Regions from separate parts of the Homo sapiens genome. Here region 2 is linked to region 1. The links are contacts of gene promoters, found by promoter capture Hi-C in blood cells and fetal thymus (Javierre and others, 2016). All regions are on one chromosome and are shown on one strand. Each heading gives the region's core, a stretch centred on a gene start or on the middle of the fragment in contact. The rest is flanking DNA. Distances are from core to core; before and after follow the strand shown.

Evidence for each region. The method cuts DNA at HindIII sites, captures the fragments that hold promoters and counts their contacts. A CHiCAGO score of 5 or more calls a contact.
Region 2: a fragment that was not itself captured here is called in contact with the fragment with the promoter of POLQ in region 1 in 1 of 17 cell types (naive CD8 T cells); the score reaches 5.4 in naive CD8 T cells.

Annotation. Positions count from the first base shown.
Region 1 is chr3:121,543,809-121,547,494 of GRCh38, reverse strand. It overlaps POLQ (DNA polymerase theta), which reads left to right and starts at 1,507. Exons shown (of 30, transcript NM_199420.4): 1 at 1,507-1,780; 2 at 2,589-2,768. The coding sequence starts at 1,618. RefSeq lists enhancers at 1,359-1,653, 1,545-1,774. The HindIII fragment of the contact is 11,524 bases long and covers 1-3,686 here.
Region 2 is chr3:122,088,174-122,091,600 of GRCh38, reverse strand. The region is part of intron 1 of CD86 (CD86 molecule); the gene reads right to left. Among named protein-coding and RNA genes, the nearest start is that of CD86, 35 kb to the right of the region's middle. The HindIII fragment of the contact is 4,556 bases long and covers 1-3,427 here.

The DNA.
Region 1 (3,686 bases), core at 258-2,757:
TCCAGAGTTGCACTGTTAACCCTTAAGTTACACTGCATCTGAGAAAGTTCTTTCTTGGCTGCAATCTAGGGGTCTCTCTCTCTTTTTTTTTTTTTTCTTTTTTTGAGACGGAGTCTTTCTTTGTCGCACAGGTTGGAGTGCAGTGGTGCGATCTCGGCTCACTACAACCACCGCCTCCCAGGTTCAAGCAATTCTCCCGCCTCAGCCTCCAGAGTAGCTGGGATTACAGGCACCCGCCATCATACCCGGCTAATTTTTTGTATTTTTGTAGAGACGGGGTTTCACCATGTTGGCCAGGCTGGTCTAGAGCTCCTGACCTCAGGTGATGCACTCATCTCGGCCTCCCAAAGTGCTGGGATTACAGGCGTGAGCCACCACGGCCGGCGAGATCTCTTTTATTTCTTTAATAGTACTCTTCATTTCTGCCCAAGCATATGGCACACTTCATTAACTGACTTGTTTAATGTCTGCCTTATTCTCTAGACTCTTTCTCTTTGAGAGCAGGAACCATTTTATGCCATTTCACTGCCATTTACCCAGTGGCTAGCTTACAGTAGATACTCAGTAAATAGTTGTTGATTGCGTAAAAGGCCAAGAGAAAAATGTTTCATTCACGGAGTAATGTCGCCATCTCGTGGAACTTTAGAATATTGTCATTTAAATCAAAAAAATGTTTTCACGGAAGGAATTGATGGTTCGAATGCTATTTTCCAGATTGTATTCGAGTGTTTTTTTTTTTTTTAATTGGACTGGACCTTTTGAGATTTTTAGTGCTCTAGAACTGCACAGCCTCTTCAGGTCAGGCTTAGGGCCTACTAGTTTTGCTTGGTGAAATGAATTATGCAACTAGGTAATGAATGGTCACCGTTTTACGTTCAGAACTCGTTCGCTTCTACCTTTACAAAAGGGACAACACAGATGCATTACTAAGCTCTTGGCTCATAACGATCCCTGGGGTATATTCAGAGCCCCTTCCTCGCGGCGTTCATATAGTGTCTCAGGGGTCTGTCAGCCAGCAATCCCCAATTCCTCATTACATATTCCTCACAATGCATGCTGGCTAAAATGGAAATTGTGTTCAGAAATAGCCCTGCCCTACCATCATATACTAGGAGAAAGGAGGAAATTATGCTCTATTAGAAACCCTAGGCTATCTTGCATAATGCTTCTCAATCTGAAATAATTTTTTACAGAATACCAATACGTTAAGAAGAGCTACTTCCCTGATCTACCTATTATGGGCAGCCCATTTTATGAAGTTAGCATGGCCTTCCTATTCAAACCAGAAATGGACAAAAGGAGAAGGAAGGCTTTTAGGTCAGTATGGTTATAACTGTAGATTCTGTATTCTTCCTCTTTAATCTATCTCTCATATTAACCAACCAGGAGGTTGGAGGCCGGAAGTCTTAGACGCCAGCGAGAGCCGCTCCTTCCCCACGAGTCTATGGCTTTCGGGTTACTTAAGCCACGGAGAACTCTATGGTTCCGGGGCGGGCCGGGAGGTTTGAGTTTGAAGACTGGCGGGAAGATGTCCGCAGCTGTTGCCAGGCCAGGGTTCTCCCGAGAGGGAGGACGCTGGGACTGTGGCTTGCCCTGATCGGCCGAGAAGAGTTTGCCATGAATCTTCTGCGTCGGAGTGGGAAACGGCGGCGTTCAGAATCAGGCTCAGATTCGTTCTCGGGAAGCGGCGGTGACAGCAGTGCCAGCCCCCAGTTCCTCTCCGGGTCCGTGCTGAGCCCGCCGCCCGGCCTTGGTCGCTGCCTGAAGGCCGCAGCTGCAGGTGCTCCAGGAACCCGGGAGGCCGCGGGCAACGGGGGCAGCTCCGCCGGGCCATGGGTCGGGAGGTGTCCTCACCCCACGGGACTTGCTTCGTTGCATACCCCATTGGGCTTCTACTCCCCTTCTCTGTGACTGGGGCCTGGTGTGGCAGGTCACTTTCTGTTCAGACATACGCGTGTTTTCAGTGATCGCCTGGTATTAATGTTCACGTGGCTTCTGGATCTTTCGACCTTTAGAGAAACAACTTCCTAGTTAGCTTCATCCCATCATCTGTTGGGCGGCTCGTTCCTGGTAGTACCCAGTACTCCTTACAGACCCTTAAGACAGGATTGTTGGGCCTGGAGTACGGCACAGGCTGTTCGGCGTCCAGGGGAAGGCTGGAAGGGATTCGTAATGAGATTGGTTGGGTGTCCCGTGGATGTCGACCCAGTTTTTTAAAATCGTTAGTTGTGCAGTCGTCATGGAACTAAAACTTACTATAAATAGAAACTCACCTAACTTAGCTTTGTAATGCTTGCATATTGCCCTCCTCCCCCAACTACACCCGTAATTCCAACACTCTTTATCTACTGTGTATTGCACGCTTTTTTGTTCGTTTGAGGCTTTTAAGGAATTTTTATTATATGCAGTAAATAACAATTTATTACTTTTCTATACATGGTCAATTTCTCATAAGATTCTTGAAGTCAGGATGTGCTTTAAAGAGCTTCATTTCAACACATAGGAATTCCAACACACGGTGAAGGGCTAACTGTAAAACTCATATATTAGAAGTAAATTAAATTTTAATTTTTTCTTTTTCCTAAAAGGAGAATGCAAGCCTACAGTTCCTGACTACGAAAGAGACAAGCTACTATTGGCAAACTGGGGACTTCCTAAAGCAGTTCTGGAAAAATACCACAGTTTTGGTGTAAAAAAGATGTTTGAATGGCAGGCAGAGTGCCTTTTGCTTGGACAAGTCCTGGAAGGAAAGAATTTAGTTTATTCAGGTATCCAAATTTATGTAAACTAATTACTATTTTTAAGATATGAATGTAAAGAATACTCTATTGAGGTAGTTGTGGTTCGTTTAAAAGGTGAATGAGGCAGTGCTTTATAACTAGAGAAAATCGTACAATATGTGTGAAAAGTGGAGTTTTATTTATATTTAAATTACAAAAGTTTTATTGTTTGACTGGGGTGGAGGGAAGCAAGAAAAATGACAATTTAAAGAGTGGGCAATTCTGCCTGCCATTATTCTCAACAAACATATATCCCAGTGAGTGTGCAATGGGAGATGTAAATCTGCCCTTCCCCTGTTTGATCCTGGTTGCTTTTCAGGGTATGAGCATTATCATTACATGTTTGTTAATTTACCTTTTTTTTTTCTTGAGATAGAGTTTGTCTCCAGGCTGGAGTGCAGTGGCGCTATGTGGGCTTACTGCAACTTCCACCTCCCAGGTTCAAGTGATTCTCCTGCCTCAGCCTCCCAAGTAGCTGGAATTACAGGTGTGCGCCACCAGGCCCAGCTACTTTTTTGTATTTTTAGTAGAGATGGGATTTCACTGTGTTGGCCAGACTGGTCTTGAGCTTCTGACAAGTGATCTGCCTACCTTAGCCTCCCAAAGTGCTGGGATTATAGGTGTGAGTCACCGTGCCCAGCTATAGATTGACCTGTTTGTACAGGGTTGTATATACAAACAACAAGTAATATACTTTATATAAAATTTTTATGGGTTTTCTTTTTTTTTTTTGAGATGGAGTCTTGCTCTGTCGCCCAGACTGGAGTGCAATGGAGTTGTCTCGGCTCACGGCACCCTCTGCCTCCCGGGTTCAAGTGATTCACCTGCCTCAGCCTCCTGAGTACCTAGGATTACAGATGCCCGCTGCCATGCCTAGCTAATTTTTGTATTTTTAGTAGAGACGGG
Region 2 (3,427 bases), core at 385-2,884, 540 kb before region 1:
CTAGAGTCGAGAAAAAAAAAGGTAAAACTTGATTAGAAAAGGAAACTGAAAACCGATGTTCACCAAAACATGACCTGGACGTGGAGTTTGGGATTCACTTGGGTTCTCGGGTGTGCAGAGACAATGCCAGGGCTTCATCAAAGCCATTTCCTTTTGCTCTTAGCTCCATCGATAGGTCACATTTCCCAGCCTCCCCTGCAGTTATACAGGCCATGAGACTGGCTTCTAGCCAATGGAATTGTGGGCAGAAAAGATGTTTCTTCCAGATCTGGCTGCTAAAGTCTCTTCTCTTTCCTCCCTCTCCTGCCTTCTTAGCAGCAGGGGATCCAGAGGAAATGTCCAAGGGCCTAGAAAATCGCAAAGTCTCACAATGGAAGAGATCTGGTTTGCTTAATAAACTAATAAAGCAGCTCTCTTTACACCTCTCCCACAACTGATCTACAATGGATTGTGATATTGGCAAAAAATAAAATTTGAGGGATTGATTATTGCAGTAGCTAGTATTATTTATCTTGACCAACATAACAGGCATGATGGGGGCAATCGGTTAGTATTGCATTTACGCTTAGAAATCTGCCTTCCTTTTGTTTTCCTGTGGTTCTCAAACTTGAATGTGAGTAAAAATCACCTGGAGAGTTTCCTGGGCCTCAACCACAGAAAGTCTGGCTTAGTAAGTTGGGATGAAACCCATGAATTTTTATGTTTAACAACATAAGGTGATGACAATGCTGCCGGCCTAAGGACCACGCTTTGAGAGCAATTCACTTAATCTACATGATGAAGCCAAGAAAAAGGATATGCTTTGCTTTATAACCTCTATCTTCTTTCTTCCTCTCCCTCCTCCCTCCTTCACTACCCACGCACTTACCCTAACTAGCACCAAAAAGGCTGCTTAGTGGCTTATAAGGAAGCAAAGAATAAGGAGAGGTGACCAACATTAGATGCGATCAGGCACATTCAGGATGGTATGGCCATACACAGGAAAGATGACCAACATGAGAAACAGGTGGAAAAGCAAACCAAATACAGGAATATGATACAGAGCCAAGGACAAGGCCAGTGCTAAATGCTTGCCCTAGAAATCTGCCCAATTTGCACTGAGGGGGACATAAATTTGGCTTATAGCTTTTTAACAGCCAATGTAAAAAGGAAAACCTAACCAGTGAATTAATTCACAGGTCTGTCCACTAAATTCATAGGTCTGTTGATAAAAACAAATCAATTCTTTCCAGGAAAAGATGCACAACTATTCTTGATCGAATAGCAGAAATGTATGCCCCAGACGGTGTTGTCTAGAAGCCATATGTGTTTCTTTCCTCTGCTCTCATAGCACCCAGTGCAGGACATTGGGCTAGAAGTGTCTGTTATGTTTTTTTTCCTTCTAGACTATACCTTTTCTTTTTTTAATAAATATTTTTGAATAGATCATGGTACTAAATGTAGATGGTACTAAATTTGAAAGATAAAGGTGATAAATAGTGGAAAGCAAGTCTGCCTCCCAGCCTTGTCCCTTAGCTGTCTAGTTTTCTTCCACAGAGGTAACAGGGGTGATCACTGTTACATGTTACCAGTTTCTTGCCTCTACTTAAAGTTACTTTAGACAAAACTAAACAAAAACATTGACCCATATTCTGTTTTCTTTTTATTTTTAAGCACAAATGGTAGCATACTATGTACGGTTTTGCACACATATGACTACCTTGGAGATTATTCTGTATCAGCATGTAACGAGTATCCTCATGCTAAAAGTTGCATATTAGTCTATTGTATTCTATTGGATGACAATAATATATATATATTTCCAGACCACTAGTGATGGATACTTAACGTTGTTTCCAATCTTTTGTTGCAATGGAAAACCTTGATTATATGCCATATCACACAGGTGGGAGTAAGCTATATTCCTAGAAGCAGAATCGTTTGACCAAAGGGTTGAAGAATAGTTGCAAATTGTTCTCCCCTGAGATTATACGTTTATGCTCTGATCAACACAAGAGTGCTTATTTTCATGTACCTTTTGCCAACATGTTTTCTAATTTGTGATCTTTAGCAATAGGAAATGGTGAAATTACATCTCATAAGTTTTAGAAATCTTTGTTATTTAGAAATCTTTATTAGTTTATGAGATTATACGTTTATGCTCTGATCAACACAAGAGTGCTTATTTTCATGTACCTTTTGCCAACGTGTTTTCTAATTTGTGATCTTTAGCAATAGGAAACGGTGAAATTAGATCTCATAAGTTTTAGAAATCTTTATTAGTTGTGGCATAATACACATAAAATTTGCCATCTTCACCTTTTGAGTGTACAGTGGTATGAAATACATTCACATTGTTGTACAGTCATCACTACATCCATCTTCAGAACTCTTTCATCTTGCAAAACTAAGCCTCTATACCTATTAAACAATAACTCTTCTTTCTCTCCTCCTCTCAGCTCTTGCCAACCACCATTCCACCTTCTGTTTCCATGAATTTGACTGCTTAGGGTATAAGTAAACTCATACAGTATTTGTCTTTTTGTGACTGGCTTATTTCACTTAGTATAATGTATTCAAGGGCCATCCACATTGTAGCATGTGTTTGAATTTCCTTTCTTTCTAAGACTAAATGATATTCCACTGTATGTACATACTACATTTTGTTTATCCATTCATTTTTGATGGACATTTGAGTTGCTTCCACCTTTTGGCTATTGTGCATAATGCTGGTATGAACAAGGCTGTATGAATATCTCTTTAAGACTCTGCTTTCAGTTCTTTTGGGTATATACCCAGAAGGGGAATTGCTAGATCATGTGGTCATTCTATTTTTAATTTTCTGAGGAACTGCTACACTATTTTCCATAGCAGCGACATCACTTTACATTCCCATCGACAACTGGAACAAGAGCTCCAATTTCTCCACATCCTTGCCAACACTTGTTCAATTCTCATATTCTGTGATAAGTAGGTTGCTGTTGGTGATTTAGTATGAGGAAGCTCACAGGAATCAGACAGAGAACTCTGTTCCCATACTCTGCGCTTGTGTGGTGTCAGCTTTGGCTCAATAGGTAATGCCCAAACTCTGAAATCTATTGGCTGGAAGGGAGGGAGACAGCAATCAGGAACCAGCTGTTCAGCTCTTACATGGAACACCTACTGTGTATTTCAGCAACTGAAAATATTTGCAACTAGTCACAAAGTATTAATTTTCTATGTATAAAAGAGCTTCTATAAATCAATAAGAAAAAGGCCAAAGACCCAAACTAAAAGCGGGCAAAAGAAATGTACAGATAGTATGTGGAACTGGAAATAACTATCTCATACATTTGAAAAGATGGTCATACTCAAAATAAAAGAAATTCAATATAAAATGACAGTGAGAACAACTTCCTACTCATTAGGCTGGCTACTACAAAAAAAAAAAAAAAAAAAAGAGGGCCCT